Regions from separate parts of the Homo sapiens genome. Here region 1 is linked to region 2. Evidence: promoter capture Hi-C in human tissues and cell types (Jung and others, 2019). All regions are on one chromosome and are shown on one strand. The core of a region is centred on a gene start or on the middle of the fragment in contact, and the rest is flanking DNA. Distances in the headings are between cores, read along the strand shown. Region 1 overlaps WDR93 (WD repeat domain 93). Region 2 holds the start of PEX11A (peroxisomal biogenesis factor 11 alpha).

Evidence for each region. Contacts are between HindIII fragments. The study calls those that stand out against the background at their distance.
Region 1: a contact is called between a fragment that was not itself captured here and the fragment with the promoter of PEX11A in region 2, in 1 of the 25 tissues and cell types used here (thymus).

Annotation. Positions count from the first base shown.
Region 1 is chr15:89,734,325-89,738,600 of GRCh38, reverse strand. WDR93 (WD repeat domain 93) reads right to left here. Exons shown (of 17, transcript NM_020212.2): 14 at 3,048-3,111; 15 at 872-1,028; 16 at 365-560. It also overlaps a transcript of MESP1 not described here. Among named protein-coding and RNA genes, the nearest start is that of MESP1, 15 kb to the left of the region's middle. The HindIII fragment of the contact is 7,254 bases long and covers 1-4,276 here.
Region 2 is chr15:89,689,217-89,693,549 of GRCh38, reverse strand. It overlaps PEX11A (peroxisomal biogenesis factor 11 alpha), which reads left to right and starts at 2,796. Exons shown (of 3, transcript NM_003847.3): 1 at 2,796-2,973. The coding sequence starts at 2,918. It overlaps WDR93 (WD repeat domain 93), which reads right to left and starts at 2,739. Exons shown (of 17, transcript NM_020212.2): 1 at 2,693-2,739. RefSeq lists an enhancer at 2,872-2,961. The HindIII fragment of the contact is 14,807 bases long and covers 1-4,333 here.

The sequences.
Region 1 (4,276 bases), core at 1,454-3,953, 45 kb before region 2:
GGCTGGAGTGCAGTGGTGCGATCTTGGCTCACTGCAACCTCTGCCTCCCAGGTTTAAGCAATTCTCCTGCCTCAGCCTCCCGAGTAGCTGGGATTACAGGCATGTACCACCACACCCAGCTAATTTCTGTATTTTTAATAGAGACGGGGTTTCACCATGTTGACCAGGCTGGTCTTGAACTCCTCACCTCAGGTGATCCGCCTGCCTCGGACTCCCAAAGTGCTGGGATTACAGGCGTGAGCCACCACGCCCAGCCAGGGGAAATTTCAATGCTGAAAGGATTTACCATGAAAGAAACTCCACTATCCCTCAATCCAGAGACAACCTCAGATGTGGGAGGGGGTGAAGACACAGAGCTCTTTACCTCTTCTGGAGGAAACGCTCACATCTCTTCTCCAGTGGCAGTGCTTGGGGGAAGGCCATGTTATCCAAGTCCCTTTGAGGAATGGTACAATTTTTTGAGATATTTTCCAGGAGTGGGCAGGCCTCAAAATTAAAATAGAAAACAGAATATTGGATTCCAGCATCGTCGGTGGACGCAGTTTCATGTGAATAGTCTCCTGTGACGAGACAAGAACACCATGTTCTGTGTAACAATCGCTTTCTCAGTGGGCTCTGTGGTCCAGGTGAGCAGGTGGGGGCTGCTCTCTGCTTATAAAGGCTGGGTCATCTGGGTTGAGCTGTGACTTCAGAGAGAAGACCCTGCTGGCATTTTATCTAAGTGCCCTGTGAGGACTGAGCTGCGGTACCCTTTGGCCTATGGTAGAGGGGGACACAGAGTGGGGAGGAGATCGGAGGGGCTCTCTCTGTTTGTGAGAGAACTAAGTCAGGGAAATGGTCAGTGGGCATCAGCCCTGGTCCCTTTCTGTACCTCGGAGCAGGAAACATGGATGGTCTGGAGACACAGCAAACACTGGCTTCCAGGGGACCTCCAGAGGAAAGGCTCCCGGAGGGGCAAAGGCACAGATGATTTCACGCTTGGCCACATCCATAAGGCACACAGAGCCATTCTTGGAAAAGATGAGCACCTGGGAAGCAAAGAGATGGTGAGGGGGGCTTCTACTGGACTCTGTCCCTCACAGGAAGGTCGTGTAGAGGTCACCCCAGTAAGGAATGAGAGAAGCAGCTGGACATAAAACCTCTTGGGCCCCAGCCTCTGGATCCATCCAGGGCTGCTGGAGACCTGCACACACATGTGTGCTTGGGGTCCCCCTCAGCCAACAGACCCTCCTCCACATGCTGTCTGCTCCAGGGCTATGCATTCCTCCCCTTTTTCCCAGCCTCTCTTCCAAGTTCTCTGCTTCTCTGCTGAAGAGCTCACCCTCCATGTAGCCAAGATTCCATTTCTCACCTGTGCTCCCAATGCCTTTCCTTCCCACTGCCTCAGGGACCTTGCTCAATCTAACAGCCCCTCCTGGCCTGAGATCTGAGCTGGGGATGCTCTCTTGCCTGGGCTCTTTCCTCTGCAGTGAACATACTAAACTCTCCCCATCCTTAGAAAGTCCCCTTTGGCCGGGCGCGATGGCTCATGCCTGTAATCCCAGCACTTTGGGAGGCCAAGGTGGGCGGATCACGAGGTCAGGAGATCGAGACCATCCTGGCTAACACGGTGAAACCTCGTCTCTACTAAAAATACAAAAAATTAGCCTGGCGTGCTAGCGGGCACCTGTAGTCCCAGCTACTCGGGAGGCTGAGGCAGGAGAATGGTGTGAACCCGGGAGGCAGAGCTTGCAGTGAGCCAAGATTGCACCACTGCACTCCAGCCTGGGCGGCAGAGCGAGACTCCGTTTCAAAAAAAAAAAAAAAAGCCCCCTTTGACCCAACAGCCTCCTCCAGCTGCCACACCACTTTCCCCTCCCCACACAAGAGGGTCTCTCCACACCCTGTCCACTCCCCCACCTCCTGCGTCTGTCTCCCAGCTTCAGCCACTCGTCTCCACCATGTTCTTGGTTTTTCTGCAGCACAGGACACTGCTCTCACTTTCTTTAGACTCTCCTCTCTGCTTGCAGGACTGTCCCCATGCAGTTTTCCCTGGGGCCCCTCACGGTCACTTTGTGAACTGATTTTCCAGGTCCTGTAAGTGATGGTAGTGCCCATGGGAACCTCTTCTCTATTCACTCCCTCTCTTTAACAAGGGGAACCTGCTGTACGCCCCACTTCAACCACCTCTCACTAACTGTACCTGGCTGGTGAGCATGGAATCTACATTTTCAGCCCTTGGCTCTCTTGGAGCCTCCCCTGGGGGTCCTGTAGGCCCCTCACCCTCCGTAGGGCCACACCAGGAATCACAGACTTTCTCTCCAGGCCTGAAGTGGGCCCTGTAAGGACTGGGGAATCACCTCTGCAAGCGAGGATCAACCGCGCACGCTTCCCTCTCCTTTGGCAACAGCCACAGGTAGTGAAGAATGTGGAGTCCATCGCCGAACTGAGATCTCTCAACTCTCCATCCCTGCTCTAAATATGCTGTTCCCATTCTCTGACCTCTCTGTTTGAGCCCCATCCCACACAGGGACACATCTGTATCCTTCTGCGCAGTGTACAGGACCTTCCATGGTCTGGCCCACCTGTCTTCCCGCCCCAGCCTCCTCCCTCTCCACATTCCACAGCAATCTCATGTGGCAGATACTGGGACTTCCTGCAGTGCCCGGGACACGTGGTGCTCTCTTGCCTCCATGGTGTTGCCTTCTCAACTCCTCTGGCTCAGCTCAGCTGTCACCTCCTCCAGAAAACACAGTCCTCCCCTGCTGCCAACTTCTGCAGGTTGAGTTAGGTGACCCTCTCTCTGTTCCATGCATCCATTAAAAAATCCCTATCACAGCCTTTCTCATGTTCTAAGGCAGCTGCCTGGTGACTTCTCTGTCTTCCCAAATGAGCTGTGTGCTCCATGAAGGCAGGTTCTTTCTCTTTCTATTTGTAAACCCGAAAGCTAGTCCAGTGCCTAACACATAACAGGCCTTCAATAAGCATTTTCTAAAGGACAGATGAACACATTCACAGAAGAGAAATGAGAGGCATGGGGCATTTACAGAGAGGCATGGGGAACCTACCATGCCAGGTAAGGCTGGGACTGGGGCCACGGCACAGATGGTTTTATCCAGGTGCTTTACAGGCCTATAGGACAGAAAATATACAGACATTCTCCTACTTTAAGAGTTTAAAAGTTTTGATATCCTCTTCTAGGCATATATCCTGGAGAAATTCAGAGAAATCAAGAAATATGTGAGGAGGCTGTTCATAGTAGCAAAAAATTAAGAACAATCCAAATATCTATTAGGAGGATGCTTAAGTCATTGTGGTATCTTATACAATGAAATATAATATGGTAATGAAAATAAAAGAACTGGAGCTACATGCATCAACATGTATGGCTCTTGTGAACAATGTTGCAAAGCAAGATGCAGAATAAATACCATTGAAAAACAAGTTGGAGGCTGGGTGCAGTGGCTCACACCTGTAATCCCAGCACTTTGGGGGCCCAGCACTTTGAGCCCAGGAGTTCAAGACCAGCCTGGGCTACAGAGTGAGACCGTGTCTCAAACAAAACCAAACAAAACAGAAAGAAAGAAAGGAAAGAAGGATGCACGGAAGGAAAGAAGGAAGGAAGGAAGGAAGGAGGGACGGAGGGAAGGAAGGAAGGAAGACAAGTTGGAGAATATATAGAATATGGTTTGCTTTGTAAGTTTCCTAAATATGCATAGCTAAATAATATACTGTTTAGAGATACAGTCATACAAATGTGGTTAATTCTTTTTCTTTTTTTAATAATTTTTGTTCTTTTCACAGAGAAGGGGTCTCACTATGTTACCCAGGCTGGTCTTGAACTCCTGAGCTCAAGTGGTCCACCCGCCTTGGCCTCCCAAAGTGCTTGGATTACAGGTGTGACCCTCTGTACCTGGCCTAAATGTGGTTAATTCTTAAGGGAAAGCAAAGGAATGATGAATTTAGAAAAATGGTGTGGTAGATTGAAAAGCAGTTGGCTGTATTTGGCAGTGACTCCCATCAAAAGATGGAGTCTGTTTTTCTACTGCTTGAATGTGGGCATGGATGTGGGATGTGCTTTGCCCAATGGGACATTAGCAAATGTAACATGAGCAGAAGCTTGAAAAGCATTTGTGTGCTATGGTTGCCCTCTCCTGCTGCTAGGAGCCCTTAGACTACCATGTGAGAAAGGCTGTACTAGTCTGCAGGAGAGACCATGAGGAAAACCGAGGTGCACTGGCCAATAACCTGCCAACTGCCAGGTGTGTGAGTGAAGCTATCTTAGAAGAGCTGTGAG
Region 2 (4,333 bases), core at 1,547-4,046:
TTTTAGGGGTAGGTTTGCATAGGCCTGTCCCCTGCAGGACAGTTAAACACATTATCTACCATCATATCCAGTCATTCCACTCTTAGGAGTGGTAGAAGGGAACTGAAAACATATGTCCATACAAAGACTTGTACACGAACAGTCATTACAACTTTATTTGTAGGAGCCCCAAAGTGGAAACAACCCAATGTCCACCAACAGGCAAACAGATAAGCTCTCACGCATTGTCAGTGGTAATACAAAATAGGATAGCCACTTTGGAAAACAGTTTGGCAGTTTCTTACAAAGTTAAACATACCATATGTTTCAGCAATCACATTCCTGCATATTACAGTAGGAAAATTAAAACTTATGTTTCACATCAAAATCTGTACTTAAATATTTATAGCAGCTTTATTTATAATGGCTTCAAATTAGAGACAACACAAATGTACTTCAGTGGGTGAATGGATAATGAATTATAATACATTCACATTGTGGAATAAAAAATTACAAACTACTGATGTGCACAACATAGATAATCTCAAATGCATTATGCTAAGTAAAATAAATCAGAAAAGAAAAGAAAACGCTACATACTATATGATTCAATTTATATGATATTGTGAAAAAGGCAGAATTGTAGGTATAAAAAACAGATGAGGCCAGGCGTGGTGGCTCACACCTGTAATCCCAGAACTTTGGGAGCTCGAGGTAGGTGGATCACCTGAGGTCAGGAGTTCCAGACCAGCCTGACCAGCATGGTGAAACACCATCTCTACTAAAAATATAAAAAATCAGCCATGCGTGGTGGCGCATGCCTGTAATCCCAGCTCAGGAGGCTGAAGCAGGAGAATCGCTTGAACCCGGGAGACGAAGGGTGCAGTGAGCTGACATTGCGCCATTGCACTCCAGCCTGGGCAATAAGAGCAAAACTCTGTCTCAAAAACAAAAACAAAAAACAGATGATACACATCTGTGTTTAGAAGCACCCTGTGCTCACCTCTATCATCTAACATATCTCTGTGTTGTACTTATCAGTTTACTGTGTTCCTTGTTAACCTATTACCCTACGACTAGAGTTTAGCACAGTGGTTGGTATATGGCCAGGACTCAATAAATTCTCATTGCTTGCAGAATTGCCCTGACCTGGGCCACGTATTTAGAGAAAACTTCTGGCTCTCTTCGAGGCTCTTTCCTCTACAAAAAATGAGTAACCCATGGGGCCAAGGAGATATGCTCACCCAAAGCCTAGTTTCCCTCTTCTGGAGTCTAGACCATGTTCAGGGTACCAATACCCCTGGAATTTACTGCCCAAATGACACCATGGCCTGCATGAGCCCTTCTCAGCTTTCACCTGAGGGCAGACCCAGCTGCTAATGTGAGCACTCCTCGATCTGAAAAGGTGGCAAAGGCATGGCTGCTTGCAGAGGTACGGGCAGACGTTGGATGTGGCTTGGAGTATCAGGATGGTATACAAGGCTCCTGGCAGGGAATGCAGGTGGGCACCAGAAACCAGAAAAGAAAGGGAAGTGGGAAAAGACTGGGAGCCATTTCTCCCCACACTGCCATATTCCAGCTGTGTTTCCAGGTATTCTAAGGAGTCTAGGGATTCTGAAGATGAACCTGGCCTTCTACATCATTATGAGGGTCTATTTGTCAATGTAGGAAAACAGACTATATTTTACTTTACAATTTGTTGCTTGATTTATAACTAAAATATTTAAACATACGGTGTGCTGGACTCCATTTGTACTCTTACCCAGGGCCTGCAAATGTTAGGAGCTGGCCTGACCAAGGGAATAAAGATTACGAAAATGTTCACCTTATTTTATTTTATTTTATTTTTTTGAGACAGCGTCTCGCTCTGTCGCCCAGGCTGGAAAGCAGTGGCACAATCTCGGCTCACTGCCACCTCCGCCTCCTGGGTTCCAGCGATTCTCCTGCCTCAGCCTCCCGAGTAGCTGGGATTACAGGCGCCCACCACCACGCCCGGCTACTTTTTTTGTATTTTTAGTAGAGACGGGGTTTCACCCTGTTGGCCAGGCTGGTCTCCAACTCCTGATCGCAGGTGATCCGCCCACCTCGGCTCCCAAAGTGTTGGGATTACAGGCGTAAGCCACAGCACCGGCCGACCTTATTTTGTGGTTATAGAGGGTACATTTTATAAAATTACTGCCACGGAGTGGGTAAGGCTCCTTTTCTTCAAGCCGCACAGAACGAATGTTCAGCGGTGCAATTTCATTGCAATCTATTTTTGCTTCACTTTGCTCATAATGACTCTTTTAGGATTTCCTCAGGTAACAATCTTCTTTCAATGTTCAATAATCCAAGCAGAACATTTTCTCACTTCATCCGCCTCCCATGCTAGGTTCACACTGTGAAATTGGCTTATCTCTGACCTAACCACTTCCTTCACCAGACATAGAGCTGGTGTAGCTCAAGGGAAAGAGGCACGGCGCTGGGAAATGATTAGGCCCCACCGTCCCAAGCAAGAGCTCAGGGGAGTTCTGAGGCTGGAGAGACCATTCGGGATATCACCCCGGGTTCCTGAGAACCTGAGATCTGCGGGGAGGCGTCAGGCATCCGGAAACGCCCGAGTCTGGGGAGACGGACCCCCTCAGACTTTCCTCTAGGAGACTCTACAGGTAAAGGGGAGTCCTGGGACTCGAGGGGAGCCCCGGCATCCAAAGGTAAGATCAGTTTTGCTCACCTGGCCGGGCGGCGTTGCGTCGCCTTGGTAACCACAACTTCCGGCTTGAACCGGAAGTCCGCGAAGTTGCTCTACAGAAAGTGTGCCCGCCCCCTCTGGGGCGGAGAGACTCAGCCCCTCCCCCTCAGCGGATAACCTGGGACTGACCGTTCCCTGGGGATCCGACGGGCCCCAGAGGACCCACGCCTGAGCCCCGTGCGACTCGTGGCCTTTGGGCTAGAAGCCATGGACGCCTTCACCCGCTTCACCAACCAGACCCAGGGCCGGGACCGACTCTTCAGGTGAGTCAGGTGCCAGCGGCCTCCGCCCCTTTCTCGCCCTAACTCGGCTCCCGTGCCTATTCCCCTGCACCCGGGAAAAAGGAGGTGATAGCCTAGTAGATGGAAGCAGGAAGGACGTTGCCAGCTCCTACGGAGGGAGTTTAGTATCCGAGCCCCTCCTTACCCTAAATTCAACGTGAGTGGGCCCAACGCACCCGCGTCCCGTCCTAGCCCCGTGCACGAAAGCCCCAGTGCCTGGCACCCTAGCCGCCTCGAGACCGCCGACGACGGGACACCGGCTGACAGATCCTCCTCCCCTCCTAACTTTGCTCTCCGGGCACAGAAAGATTGGTTCTCTCCACTCAACATTCTTCCGAGGGATCTCCTTTAAAGAGAAACTTTGGATTAGTATTTGTGGCTAGGGAAGCAAACCACTTGGTGTGACTTCAAATATCTCTCTTTTTTTTTTCTTTTGAGACGGAGTCTCGCTCTGTCGCCCAGGCAGTGGCGCGGTCTCGGCCCACTGCAACCTCTGCCTCCCGGGTTCAAGCGATTCTCCTGCCTCAGCCTCCTGAGTAGCTGGGATTACAGGCGTGCACTACCACGCCCGGCTACTTTTTGTATTTTTAGTAGAGACGGGGGTTTCGCCATGTTGGCCAGGCTGGTCTCGAACTCCTGACCTCAGGTGATCTGTCCACCTCGGCTTCCCAAAGTGCTGGGATTACAGGTGCGAGCCACCGCGCCCGGTCTCAAATACCTCTTGAAATGTTTGAGGAGAGACAGAAGTTCTCTTCCATTATTACCCAGGCTGTATCATTGAGATACTGCATGTGGAATAGTTTTGTAAATTGTAAAACAAAATATAGCGGGGATGAGACCACACCAACTGGATTGGGGGGAAATACAGTGGGGAGAAGCTCAGAAAGAACTAACTGCACCTCTAAGGTTCATGCTGTGCTACTGAAAATATTAAACAGAGATTGTGTCTCTTTTTCTTTTGGTTCCATAAGAAACGAAAAGAACTGAGAGATTGTATCTTTAATACGAATACAGTACTAGTTCATGATGTTTTAGAGATTTGGTTGATTCTTGCTTAATGAAAAAATATTTACAGTTGCAGTTTTATTTAACAGCTCTGCATTCTCTTCTGGGTGTGCAAGTGCTGATACAAACAGATCAATTAGAATGGCCCCAATAATGAGGCTTTTGGAAGCCATCTTTATGACAGCTATTGTTCCCAGTGTTTTGCAACTATGAACTTATATAACCCTCATCACAACCCTATGAGGTAGATACTCTAAATATTTTACCCACTTCAGATGGAGAAACTGAAGCAGAAAGAGGTTAATAGGTACTACAATGGCAGAACTGAGGGATTCAC